4 separate regions of the Homo sapiens genome follow, and regions 1, 2 and 3 are each linked to region 4. Evidence: promoter capture Hi-C in human tissues and cell types (Jung and others, 2019). All regions are on one chromosome and are shown on one strand. The core of a region is centred on a gene start or on the middle of the fragment in contact, and the rest is flanking DNA. Distances in the headings are between cores, read along the strand shown.

The links. Contacts are between HindIII fragments. The study calls those that stand out against the background at their distance.
Region 1: the fragment with the promoter of NLRX1 here is called in contact with a fragment that was not itself captured in region 4 in 1 of the 25 tissues and cell types used here (dorsolateral prefrontal cortex).
Region 2: the fragment with the promoter of CBL here is called in contact with a fragment that was not itself captured in region 4 in 2 of the 25 tissues and cell types used here (dorsolateral prefrontal cortex and neural progenitor cells).
Region 3: a contact is called between the fragment with the promoter of ABCG4 here and a fragment that was not itself captured in region 4, in 1 of the 25 tissues and cell types used here (dorsolateral prefrontal cortex).

Annotation. Positions count from the first base shown.
Region 1 is chr11:119,167,045-119,170,172 of GRCh38, forward strand. It overlaps NLRX1 (NLR family member X1), which reads left to right and starts at 1,681. Exons shown (of 10, transcript NM_001282144.2): 1 at 1,681-2,258. RefSeq lists a silencer at 1,590-2,199 and enhancers at 1,771-2,476, 2,477-3,128. The HindIII fragment of the contact is 23,273 bases long and covers 1-3,128 here.
Region 2 is chr11:119,204,721-119,207,616 of GRCh38, forward strand. It overlaps CBL (Cbl proto-oncogene), which reads left to right and starts at 1,619. Exons shown (of 16, transcript NM_005188.4): 1 at 1,619-1,892. The coding sequence starts at 1,698. RefSeq lists silencers at 1,127-1,196, 1,237-1,626, 1,697-1,886, 2,077-2,136. The HindIII fragment of the contact is 26,271 bases long and covers 1-2,896 here.
Region 3 is chr11:119,147,137-119,150,416 of GRCh38, forward strand. ABCG4 (ATP binding cassette subfamily G member 4) reads left to right here and starts at 1,916. Exons shown (of 15, transcript NM_022169.5): 1 at 1,916-2,227; 2 at 2,818-3,067. The coding sequence starts at 2,830. RefSeq lists an enhancer at 1,298-1,357 and a silencer at 2,015-2,094. The HindIII fragment of the contact is 17,825 bases long and covers 1-3,280 here.
Region 4 is chr11:119,353,097-119,356,406 of GRCh38, forward strand. It overlaps USP2 (ubiquitin specific peptidase 2), which reads right to left. Exons shown (of 13, transcript NM_004205.5): 13 at 2,119-3,310. Among named protein-coding and RNA genes, the nearest start is that of MFRP, 8.0 kb to the left of the region's middle. The HindIII fragment of the contact is 6,124 bases long and covers 1-3,310 here.

The DNA.
Region 1 (3,128 bases), core at 431-2,930, 190 kb before region 4:
TTTTGCTTTATCTCCCAGGCTAGAGTGCAGTGGCATGATCTCGGCTCACTGCAACCTCTACCTCCCAAGTTCAAGCAATTCTTGTGCCTCAGCCTTCTGAGTAGCTGGTACTACAGGCCCATGCCACCACGTCTGGTTGATTTTTTTTTTTTTTTTGATACAGAGTCTTGCTCTGTCTCCCAGGCTGGAATGCAGTGGCGTGATCTTGGCTCACGGCAACCTCCGCCTCCTGGATTCAAGCGATTCTCCTGCCTAAGCCTCCTGTGTAGCTGGGACTGCAGGCATGCACCACCCAGCCCGGCTAATTTTTGTATTTTTAGTAGAGATGAGGTTTCACCACGTTGCCTAGGTTGGTCGTGAACTTCTGAGCTCAGGCAATCCGCCTGCCTTGGCCTCCCAAAGTGCTAGGATTACAGGCATGAGCCACCATGCCTGGCCAATTTTTGTTATTTTTAGTAGAGACGGGGGTTTCACCATGTTGGCCATGGTGACGAGTTTGAGCTGGTCCCAAACTCCTGGCCTCAGGAGATCTGCCCTCACCCCCAGCCTTCCAAAGTGCTGAGATTACAGGTGTGAGCCACCGCGGCTGGTCCTCTGATTTATTTTTTCAGATCCAGTACAAATGTTACCTCCTCTGCACTCCCTTTTCCAGACTCTCCTAATGCCTTGCCTCTGCCACTGAAGTACATCATTTGTTTGTCTGTTTTTTATATTTTTATTTTCTATTTTCATTTTAAATAGAGACAGGGTCTCACTATGTCACCCAGGCTGGTCTCAAACTCCTGGTCTCAAGTGATCCTCCTGCCTCGGCCTTGAAGTACATCATTTGTAAATGTGGTAGTTGATTCCATTAAAGTGAGGTGCCTGCCTTGCTGTGGTTGGCAGCCCAGGGCCTAGTGCTGGACCTGGCTTGTGGGGGTGAGGTGCTCAGTGCTACCCAATACCACAGTACAACGAATGAACAAATGTCTAAATGAAACATCCACATTGTTTTCAGTAAGTCCTCTTCCCAGCCCTGCCCTGGAGAGCCTCTCTGTGGGTGCCCTAGTGCACAGCTCTGTTGTGTGAACATCGTACACTCATGCTTGCATACGAAGGCGTGCCCTGGCTGTGGGTGGTGGGTGGCTCCTCCTTCTGGGCTACGTGAGCCCAGGGTGTGGAAGTGTGTGGAAGTGTAGGGATAAGGGTGGGGGCTTTGGGAACTGGGAAGCCCCAGGGCTAGGCCATGAATGGGTGTCAGACCCGAAGAGCAGGTTGGGGTGCAAGTTGTCCTTCAGCCCCCATTCTTCCTTCTTTCTTAACCAAGGTTACCAGCAGCCACACACATAGGTCTGGGCTCTGAAGAGGACCGGATACATAAGGCAGAACCCAAGGAAGCCTTAGGCTCAGGTCTCTGCCTGAAGGTAGGCTGGGGAGGCGGAGAGGGACAGAGGGAAGAATCCCCTGGACACCGCGCCTCAGGGAGGCCCAGGGGTAAGGTAGGAAGACTCAGGCCCGGGATGTTGTTCTGGCTCATCCACTTCCTAACTGAATCAACCTGCACAAGTCATTTCACCCTTCTGAGCATCAGTTTCTTCATCTGTAAAATGGGCCTAACAAGCAGCCCAGCCTGGGAGGTGGTTAGTGAGGTCACTGGGTGTCACTGGCGCTTGGGAACCTGCAGAGGGCAGTACTAGCGGCAGTGCCCGCGGGGATGGAGGCAGGGAGGGGGGACGATGGCGGGACGGGTGGCGCCGGGGTTCCAGCCCTGCGCCTGCTCCGGAGCACCGGGCCCCTCTCGCTGACCCCCTCGTCCCAGGACCCCGCAGGCCCGAGTGCCTGGGCTCGTCCTCTTTCGCGCCCGCTGCCAGGTGCCAGGGCCGCGCAGGCGGGCGGAGGTGGGCAGGAAGCGCCACGCCGAGGAGCCGGGGACTCTGGGAGCTAGCGGGAGACGCCGGCGTCCGCCCAGCCGACCCCTCTGGGCCGCGGCCGACGGCTCCCGGAACTGGGCAGCCGCGGGTAAAGGCCTAGCGGGCTTGATAACCCCTGCGCCCTGGCTGGGAGGCCGCGCTGAGCGGGGGGCAGGGCGGGCCGGGGGAGGAGGCTGTGCAAGGGCCGCGGGGAGATCCCGGCCGAGAACGAGAGGGACGGAGCTGGGCGCTGAATGGCGGGCGTTCTGGCAAGTCTCCCCCTGCGTTCCCGAGGCCACCCGAAAGTAGGAGAGCTGTTTGGGACCCAGTTTGGTGGAGGAGCTCTGGACCTGTAGGAACACCGCCCCTGTACGTTTCCTGCAGTGCCCCCTCCTTTTCTCATTGCCCTGGAGACCTGGGTGATCACCGGAGAACTGCCCTCGGCCCCGCAAGTCCCGTCTTGACTCAGTGGCCCTAGATCCGAGGTTAAACCGGAACCTAGGCTTTCTCAGGCTTCTGGAGCCCTCTCTTAACCCTTCCGCAGCCCCTGGGACGGGCCAGCACCCAGCCAGCTCCTCCGCTGGTTGGCCCTGCTAAGGCAGGTGGCCCAATGCAGCCAGTTCTCCTTAAGCGTACCCTGCCCAAGAAGCCCCGATCTCAGTGGAGGAGACCAGGTGCCAAATAGGGGCACATTCCATTTAAGTGAGTTCAGAGGCCTCAGAAAAGACTTCCCAGGGACGGAGACTTTTGAGCAGGATCTTAAAAGATTGGTTGGGGCCCGAGTGGTGGCTCGCGCCTGCAGTCCCCGCACTTTGGGAGGGCAAGGCGGGCGGATCACTTGAGCCCAGGAGTTCGAGACCACCCTGGGCAACAATGGTGAAAACCCCGTCTCTACAAAAACCAAAGCCAAAAATTAGCCAGGTGTGGTGGCACACCACTTTAGTCCTAGCTACTCAGGAGGCTGAAGCAGGAGGATGGCTTGAGCCCAGGAGGTAGAGGTTGCTGTGAGCTGAGATCGTACTACTGCACTCCAGCCTGGGCAACAGAGCGAGAGACCCTGTCTCAGGAAAAAAAAAAAAAAAAAAAAAAAAAAAAAAAAAATTGGTTGGGACTCTAACAGAGGAAAAAGGTCATTCCAAACTGGGAAGAGTGTATGAACAAATTTAGGACAGCAAGAGCAAGAATCCGGTGAGCCTGGGGTATAAGGCACAGGCTGGGACAAACTCAGAAAAATAGCTT
Region 2 (2,896 bases), core at 369-2,868, 150 kb before region 4:
TGTTTAAAGTTTTTTTGCGATGCTGTCTGAACTATACTTTAGGAAGCCTATGGTGGCAGGATGAATTGAAGGCACAGGAAAAGGTTTCAATATTCAATAGTCCAGGGAAAAGAAACGGAGGACCTGCAACTAGGTGTTGGCACTAAGGGATGGAGCTTTGCCTAGATTTTCCCTTTGTAGATTCTTCTCTTCCTGGATGGAAAATGATAAAAGGAAATTCTTCTGATAGTAAATTATAATGTTGACTCCAAAATCAATTCTAGATAAAGGCGATTAAATTGCAAACCCAGGATGCCTGTCTGAATGGTCCCTGCATTCAAAGATATTTTCCCCTTTACAGGAGCACCGGATAAATTTAACTCCCTAATCTGTCAAGGGCTTTGTGGAAGAGCCTGGAGGGGGATCGAAGGCGGAACTGATACTGACACACCTGGGTCTGCAAACTCCCAAAACTGAGGCTCAGAATTAGTAAATTAGGGCAGGGCACTTCCCTCTTTGGAAGGGAAGTTCCTATTTTCAAAGTTCTTCCAACGGAACTTTTACATTAGAGAAGTGTAATTGACTGAGAAGTGGAAGTGACCAGGAACAGCATTTCTGTTCCCTGGGCGGGAGAGAGAACCCCCTCGGGCGGAGCCAGCAGCAGGTCAGCTTCTGAGGGGGCCCTCATGCTGGCGGCGCCGACCTGTGGTGCAATGCTCTGAGTAGGAGAATCTTAAATACATGTTTGAGATTCAATTCCCAGAAACGTAACTAGTCTTCACAAGCCAAAAAAATAAAAATAAAAAATAAAAAAAGGAAGTGATTTCTTTTCAAGAGGTCAAAGGGCCTGGAAGAAGAGGTCCTGGCTTGAGTGTCTCAAGGCTTTCTGGGGCCTAATCCGGCTGGAATGGGCCGCAGCATTCATATTCCTGTCCTTGGTCGTGTCTTAATGAAGAATTGAAAATAATAAGGGGTGGAGAAATAACTTTCCTTTTTCTCCCACCATCCTCCCACAGTGTAAATAAACAAATAACTCTAAGCTCGATTTCCTCATTTGTCAGGGGTGGGGAAAGACTTGACATCAGGACTCTTCCATTCCATCGCCACCTGTCTTAATTTAAACATTCCCATGACCCACCCCAGAAGCGCCAACCTCCCGCCCACAAGGAGCATGGAAGTCTTGGTTTCTGGCTACTGCGCAGACTCCACCTTGGACCTACTCCCCAACCCCCCGCCGCTCCTTTCCCCGTTTCTCCAGCAGAGGGCGCAGGCCCAAAGGTTCCGCCGACCCCGCCCCAGCCTGGCCCCGCCCCGCCCCGGCGTAGGGGCGGGGAAGACGGGCACAGAAACCTGGCCGCGGCTTTCCGGGAGCTGTGGGCACGCGAGCTGCTCGAAGCCGGTGGCCCGGGGATCGTCGCTGCCCAGTCCGGCCGCGGCCGGCCGCTTCCCCGAGCTTACCAGTAAGCCGGTCCGCCTCCGGGACGCGCCCCGCCCGCCCCGGGCTCGCGCGCTCTGAAGGGGCGCGTCCCGCGCACTCCCGGCGCCGCCCACTCCCCTCCCCACGGCCGCTCCTCCCTCCGCCCGGATAGCCGGCGGCGGCGGCGGCGGCGGCGGCGGCGGCGGCCGGGAGAGGCCCCTCCTTCACGCCCTGCTTCTCTCCCTCGCTCGCAGTCGAGCCGAGCCGGCGGACCCGCCTGGGCTCCGACCCTGCCCAGGCCATGGCCGGCAACGTGAAGAAGAGCTCTGGGGCCGGGGGCGGCAGCGGCTCCGGGGGCTCGGGTTCGGGTGGCCTGATTGGGCTCATGAAGGACGCCTTCCAGCCGCACCACCACCACCACCACCACCTCAGCCCCCACCCGCCGGGGACGGTGGACAAGAAGATGGTGGAGAAGTGCTGGAAGCTCATGGACAAGGTGAAAGGCCGGCTGAGCGCCCGCTGTTGCAGGGTGGGCGTGGGCGGAGGGCCGCGGGGAGGGGAACGAGCGGACGGAGGAAGCGGGGGAGGGGACGGGTCTGGTGAAGCCGGGGAGGCGCGGAGCCGGGGTGACCGGCCGGGGGCGTGGGGGCAGGGACGAGGCCGGGAGGGTGGGGGGCGGCGTGGGGGAGGGGCTGCCGTTGGGAGTCGGGGAACGCTGGGGTGCCGCGTTTGGGGTAGCCAGACAAAGATGGAGTGGGGGCTGGGGCGAAGGTTAACTGGGAAGTCAGTGGGGCGGAAGTACAATGAGGGGTGCGGAGTTTGGGGCTCTGTGCAGGGTGTAGGGATGTAGGTCACGGAATTGGCCTGGGAGGTTAGCAGGGAGGGGGTGAGGAAGAGTGATGTACCGGCTGGGGCTCTTGGCTGGGTGAGATCTGACTAGGGAATTAGGTTCATGGGCTCTGACTGAGGAACCTGGCTGGGGTCAGGACAGCTCTCAGGGAAGCTGTGCTCTGGGTGAGAGTATAGTCCTTTCTCATTAAGATGTAACACGAAGATAAAAGACATATTGATGTTTAAGTGAGGCAAGGAAAGAACTTTCCTCCCCATCTAGCGCCGGCTCAAGTTTTTTGTTACCCTCAGAAACACTGGATGTGATCCATTGCTGGTGCTGAGATATGCACTGATTAAACCACAAGTTCTGGTTAGAACTATTATCTTCTGAAAGATGGACTGGCTGAGCCTGTTAAGCAGCAGCAGATTCTGACTTCTTAATAACTTCCTCCCTACTACATCGCTTGAGCTGGGTTCTTTTTTTCTGGTAACGGTTCTGACTCCTTATTACAGGTCCTGACTTTAAACTTGTTCGTTGAGCTTCTTTGATTACGCTTTTTTGTTTGTTTGCTTTTTGCAAGTGCGAACAAAAATAACTCCTTTATATTTAGCCACTAAGTTTGTCATTTGGGAGAATTTTACTTCCTTATAGTTGTGTCTATATGATGA
Region 3 (3,280 bases), core at 666-3,165, 210 kb before region 4:
CTGTAATCACAGCACTTTGGGAGGCTGAGGCGGGAGGATCACTTGAGGTCAGGAATTCGAGACCAGCCTGGTCAACATGGTGAAACCCCATCTCTACAAAAAATACAAAAATTAGCCGGGTGTGGTGGTGTGTGCCTGTAGTTCCAGCTACTCAGGAGGCCGAGGCAGGAGAATCGTTTCAACCTGGGAGGCAGAGGCTGCAGTGAGCTGAGATCTCACCACTGCTCTCCAGCCTGGGTGACAGAACGAGACTATATCAGAAAGAAAGAAAGAAGCAAAGAAAGAGAGAAAGAGAGAGAGAGAAAGAAAGAAAGAGAAAGAAAGAAAGGAAAGAAAGAAAGAAAGAAAGAAAGAAAGAAAGAAAGAAAGAAAGAAAGAAAGAAAGAAAGTTGTGTGCCAAAGAATAAAGCTGGGTGGCATTAAGACATGGAGGTTATCTCAGGAGGATGAAGAGCCTGTCTAGAAAATAGAGGGAGACAGTCCATTTGGGAATAAGGTTCTGAGAGGCCCAATTAGCAGGGTAAAATCAGGGACTTTGGGATTCAAGCCCTGCTTTGCCACCAACTATTGCTTAACCTCCCTATGCCTCAGTTTTTCATCTCTAAAGGGGGGTTGTAAAACCTGTCGCATAGGGATATTGTGAAGATTAAATAACATAATGCCTGGTACAAAGTAGTTAATAAATGCAACTGTTGGGGGATGGGGAGGTCTATAGTAGCTGATGAGAAGTTGACTTGGAGAATGGAGGGTCCATCTGGAGAACAGGAGGTTGGTCCTGAGGAATGGTGGTGATGTGGGGCATGGAGTTGGGGGAAGATAGGAAAGACTGGATCCAAACCCCACACAAACCTCAGAGTAACAGGGCGGGGCCTAGAGAAATCCTCCAGGGATCGCCAGCTTTTAGGGCTGTGGAGAGGTGGTTGGGAGGGGGGCCAGCAGGGGAGAGGTTTGACTGCTAGTAACCCTCAACTGCTGCAGTAAGGAGAAGCCTCAGCGGTGGCAGTCACACCAGCAGCCTCAGAGCCTTCCCTCCCCATCGTCTCTGCTGTGTGACAGGTGGGAACTTAAAAGCTCAGATCACGTGTCTTGGCTAGCTAACCTACTTACCCCTTGAAGACATAGTGGCTGGGACAGGCAAGGGCCAAGAGGAATTGGCTGAGAAAGGGGCAGAGCAGGGGAAAGCCCCAAGTGTGTTCTGGGGACCTACATTTGAAGGCTTTGGGGGCAAGGGAGAGAATGTGCAGGTGCATGAGATGCCCAGGGCATGTCTGCGAGCCCTGTGCATGCCCTGGCACACAGGTCCCTCCAGGATATGGCATGTGCCTGTCTTGAAGGCCTGTATCTGGCTAGGTGACTACAGTCGGAGCAGGCTGAGCACTGGGTTCCAGTTTAACTCTGGAGCTACTGCAGGCTCTCCCAAAGCTGCTGCCATTTTCCCTTCTTTATTAGTGTCCTAACTCAGAGAAAGTGTGAATGGGGAGACAGGAGGATGTTCCAATGTCCCAAGGCTCCTGCGTTTTTGAAAGCCTTTGCACCTCGTTTGGGGATTCCTGGAGGGAGGCCTGCGCTCATTCATGGGCTGGAACTGAGGGAAATTGTTGGGGGACTGGTATCGTGTGTGAAGACAGACTGACACCTTTACAATCCCTCCACTTTCCCCCACCCCCAACACCCTTGCCTAATCTGTCTTCCAGGGACTTGTCCCCACGGAGTGACTCCAGCTCTCCTTTCCTCACTGCCTCCAAGTCGGCCCTTTGCCATCAACCCCCAGTCCTGAGTTCACCCCTGCACCTCCTCCGGCCCCCGCGCCGCAAGCGCTGCTCTCTCCTTTGCCGTCCTCGCCCCCCGCGGGCTGCCGGGCGGCGCGGGCCCTTTAAGAACGGCGGGACCGGCGAGCAGTAGCTGGTAGGAGAGCGCAGTCGCCCCGCGGGCTCGGAGGACACAGCGTCCGGGACCAGGCTCTGGGAAGCGGGTGTGCACAGCCCAGCAGAGTCAGGGCGCGACCCCAACCGCCTCTCACCATCCTTGCCGTCTCCTCCGAGCCGAGGGCCGGCCCTCCTGCCTCGCCTGCCCCGCCCCGGCCCCGCCCCGGCCCGGGCCGCCGGGACCGGGAGCCGGGACGCGGGTGCCGCAGCCCGAGGCAGGTAAGGGGAGCCCCGGCTCTCCGTCCCCGGTCCGTGGCAGCGCTGAGCATCCCGGCCCCGCACCGGCCCGGGGGCGCGTCAAGGTGACTAGGCATGCGGGAGATGGGGCGGGGGCTTGAGCTGCCGTGGGGCGCTTAGTTTTGAGTCCGGGTGGTGCGCCTGGCTTTGGGGACAGCCCGGGGCACGCGGGCCCGGGGGTGCCGGCGGGAGGGGCCGGCCTGGGCGTCGCGCCAAGGGATGGGGAGTGGGACGCAGCCGGAGGCCTGAAGCCTCCTCCTCTCCGCCTTCCCCTGGTCCGCCCTGCACTCACCCTGCTACCCCGACCTCCTAGAGCGGGCAGCCTCTGCCGGCTGCCTCTTCTCCCCCGCCCCCTATTCCTTCAGTCCCCAGGGGCTGCTGGCCTGCGGGGTAAGGAGATTAGAGAAGCCGCCGGGAGGAAGGAGCGATTGAGGGCTTCAAGGGGACGGGCTGGGGTCAGGCTGGAGCTGGGCTGCCCGGGACTGAGCGTCTCCGTGCGGAGAGTGGGGGGCGGGGGCAGAGTGCGGGGCTAACAGTCGCGGATCTGCCCCGAGAAGGAGGTGGGCAGTGGGGGCGGGGGAAGCATTAGAACGCCAGGGAGCTTTGAGCCGGGCTCGGTGGTCTGCCCCAAACTGAGCAGGCCCTCCCCTTGCAGGTCGGCGGCGTGATGGCGGAGAAGGCGCTGGAGGCCGTGGGCTGTGGACTAGGGCCGGGGGCTGTGGCCATGGCCGTGACGCTGGAGGACGGGGCGGAACCCCCTGTGCTGACCACGCACCTGAAGAAGGTGGAGAACCACATCACTGAAGCCCAGCGCTTCTCCCACCTACCCAAGCGCTCAGCCGTGGACATCGAGTTCGTGGAGCTGTCCTATTCCGTGCGGGAGGGGCCCTGCTGGCGCAAAAGGGGTAGGGAACAGCCTGGTAGGGGGAGTCCGTGGGCCCTCTCTGAGTTGCCTCTCCAGAAGCATGAGGCCTGGGTGTCCCATGTTCGGAAAGTCCTGCACCAGTGGGCTCTGTGGAAACACTAAAATCTGGGCCCCAGCCCGTTGCTCACTGTGCACTCTTGGGGTGTCAGGATCTACGCTCCCCCACACCTGTGAGCACCATGGGATACTAGGT
Region 4 (3,310 bases), core at 145-2,644:
GATGGACAAAAAAACGTGGGGACAGACCTGCGTGTGTTTGTGCTCTGTGTAACACTAGGACCTGTTGCCATGGGGATGAGAAAGCACCACAGATTAATTACTGAAGAGCTGGGAGCAAGGGTGGCGGACCTGAGTGGAGCCCCTGCCCTCAATGTCTCCTAGAGTCCATCTGTTCCCCAGTGGAAGACAGCAAAAATTACAGGGCTGCTTCTACCTCCAGTGAAGAACTAGTCAGAGTACAGCCATTCACTTTGCTACAAGCCTCATGTTTTTATTTTGAGGGGATCCTGTTTGCCTGCGGCTTGGGGGCAATCATCAGGGTAAGATTTCCAATCACAGCCTGGGTCAGGCCACCCTCAGGGCAGGCCAGGGAAGTTTGGGTCCCTCAGGGAGAAATTCCAAGTTTTAAGTCACTGTCATTTTCAATCCCTCTTCTTCACTCTTGGGAAATGCTTAGAAAAATGCCCCCACAACTGTCCCCCTCCATGAGGTGGGTTTGATAGCAGCACACAGGCCTTAAGTGACAGCAGGTGCTTCTGTCTCAGCAAGGATGGAATAGTCAGGCCTTTATTTTTCAGTGTCTGGAGCAGTGAAGGCAGTGAGGAAGAATCCTGATGAAACACTCCAGGCTCACCTGGTGGAGCCTTCAGCTTCCCTAGTTCTAAGACCAGCAGCAGAAATGGAAAAGCTGAACAGTGCTAATGAAGAGGTGACACCAAAGGAGACGTGGGTCACCGAGTGCACCAAAGGCATCACCTCTTTTAGGGGTTAAATCTGAAGTCTTGAGAAAAAGCACTTTAGGGAACAAAGCCTGTAACATAAAGGTAACTGTTTCTAAGTATTAGGTGGTAAAGCTGAGATCTTTGACTTATCAAAGACTAAGCCCTGGCTGGGCGTGGTGGCTCACGCCTGTAATCTCAGCACTTTGGGAGGCCGAGTCAGGCAGATCACCTGAGGTCAGGAGTTCGAGACCAGCCTGACCAACATGGAGACACCCCCGTCTCTACTAAAAATAGAAAAATAGCTGGTCGTGGTGGCGTATGCCTGTAATCCCAGCTACTGGGAGGCTGAGGCAGGAGAATCGCTTGAACCCAGGAGATGGAGGTTGCAGTGAGCTGAGATCATGCCATTGCGCTCCAGCCTGGGCAACAAGAGTGAAACTCTGTCTCAAAAAAAAAAAAAAAAAAAAAAAAAGACTAAGCCCTGGTCACTCCACATCCAGGTAATGATACTCTGCTCTAAGAGCAAGTTTTGCTATATTTGACATCTGCTGGAGAGATGTATTTTATCTTATCATAGGTCTGTGAAAACACCCAAGTGTTTCTTTTTTCATAGAGACAGGGTCTCACTATGTTGCCCAGGCTGGTCTCAAACTCCTGGCCTTAAGCCATCCTCTCACTTCAACTTCTTGAATTACTGGTGTGAGCCACCATGCCCAGCCCCAAGAGTTTCAACCAAGAATTAAGAGAGTAGCCCATACCAGCATTAAAAAGTAGACAGTTCATTAAAAAAAAAAATGGACATGTGAAAACCATGTCACATAGGAGAATGTCCTGATTCTTAGGAGATGTATGCTCAAGTATTTAGAAGTGGTGATATAACACCTCACCTGAAAATGTTTCGGCAGACAGAATAAAGTACAGTTGACCTTTGAACAATGCGGGCTTGAACTGTGTGGGTCCACTTTCACGTGGATTTTTTCAACCAAATAAGGATAGAAAATACTGCATTTGTAAGATGCAAAACCCACATATATAGAAGGCTGATTTTCATATACGCAGGTTCTGCAGGGGTGACCTTGGGACTTGAATATGGTGCAGATTTTGGTATGTGTGTATCTTGGAACCAATCTCCCTGTGTATACTGGGGGATGGCTGTATATTTAAATGTGTTTGTAAACAATTGGTGAATCCAGATGAAGAATATAGTGTCCAAAATATGTATTGTTTCAGTTTTTAAAAAATTAAACTTAAATGTTCAAACTAAAAAGTGGGTAACTTTTTCCAGAAACTTGGAATTTACAAACTGGTTGAAACAATGAAATAGATGGCCCCTAATATACTAGGAGCCCTTCCTAGATTCAAACACTCCCAAATCAAGATTCCAACATCTGCCAACTGATTTCTCAAAGCTATTATTTATTCTGTACAAGGTTCCACTGTACATTAGACATTCTTCTACTCTTGCTTACACAGTAAACAAGTGTACACTTGCCCTTGGGCTCAGGTTCACAGGTCTTCTCTGGAGAAGGGTGTCAGGCCAGTAAAACTCAGGGTGTCTTTCTCTGATGCCTCCTCCTAGGAGCCTGGAATGTGCCAGGCTCCACGGGGCACAAGCCGGGCCCAGCTGTGTGGGTGAACAGCTTTACTCTCCAGGACAGCACAGAGTTTTATCCAACTATGTAGGGCAAAATTGAGCCCACAGGAAAGAACCATACAACTGAGGCAAGATGTCCCCAAATACCCAGGCTCCAGCTCCCAGGGCAGGACTGGAGACCAGCGCTAAGAAGAGCTGAGGGGTGGCCTGGGCATCCCTGAGAAACTCGGTCCAAAGGGCCTATTGTCTAGGAGGCTCTGAGAAGGGGGCGGGGGCAGGAAGGCCAGGGGGAAAGGGATGTTAAGAGAATAAATAAAAGGGAGAGAAGCTCTAGGGACGAGGGGCTTGTGCTATCCTTCAAACAGCTGGGGAGCAGACCAGGGGTGGGCTAGAGGACGTGGGCGGGAAGAACTTGATGCCCTGTCGGAAGGAATCTACCTGCTTTCTTCTTTGCCTCACTGCAATGCACAACGAGCCAGGGCTAAGGGCAGGATCCCTTTCCCAGGCGGGTTTGAACAGAGCACTGGGGAAAAGGGAAGAGGCTGAGGGATATTTCAGGAGGGGCAGTTACCCCCTGGTCCCCAAATGCTATAAGGCACAATTCTTGGAGGCAACTAAATTCCATTCAAAACATTAAAAAAAAAAAAAAAAAACCCAAACCCCCAAAACAGAAACTTGTTTTAGATCCCAGGTCTACTGTGGCTGTGCTTGGGGCCTGGCCAACGCCCACCTAGCACCACGGAGGGCTAGCATTAGAAAGTTGTACTTGGAAAAGCAATAAAAGGACCAGTGCAACGTCCCAGCTATGAAGAGGCCTGAAGGAGAGCACTCCAGTCTGAACACTTTAGTTATGGAAATTAAAAAAAAAAAGTTGGGCTTTTTAAAAACCAAAACCAGCGTTTTCCAAAGATGTCCCTTCGTCTGTCCCCTGGAGTTAGCAGCGTGAAGAGGGCTCTTGGCTCATGGCTCTGGACCGGCGAGCCGTGCGGGTGGA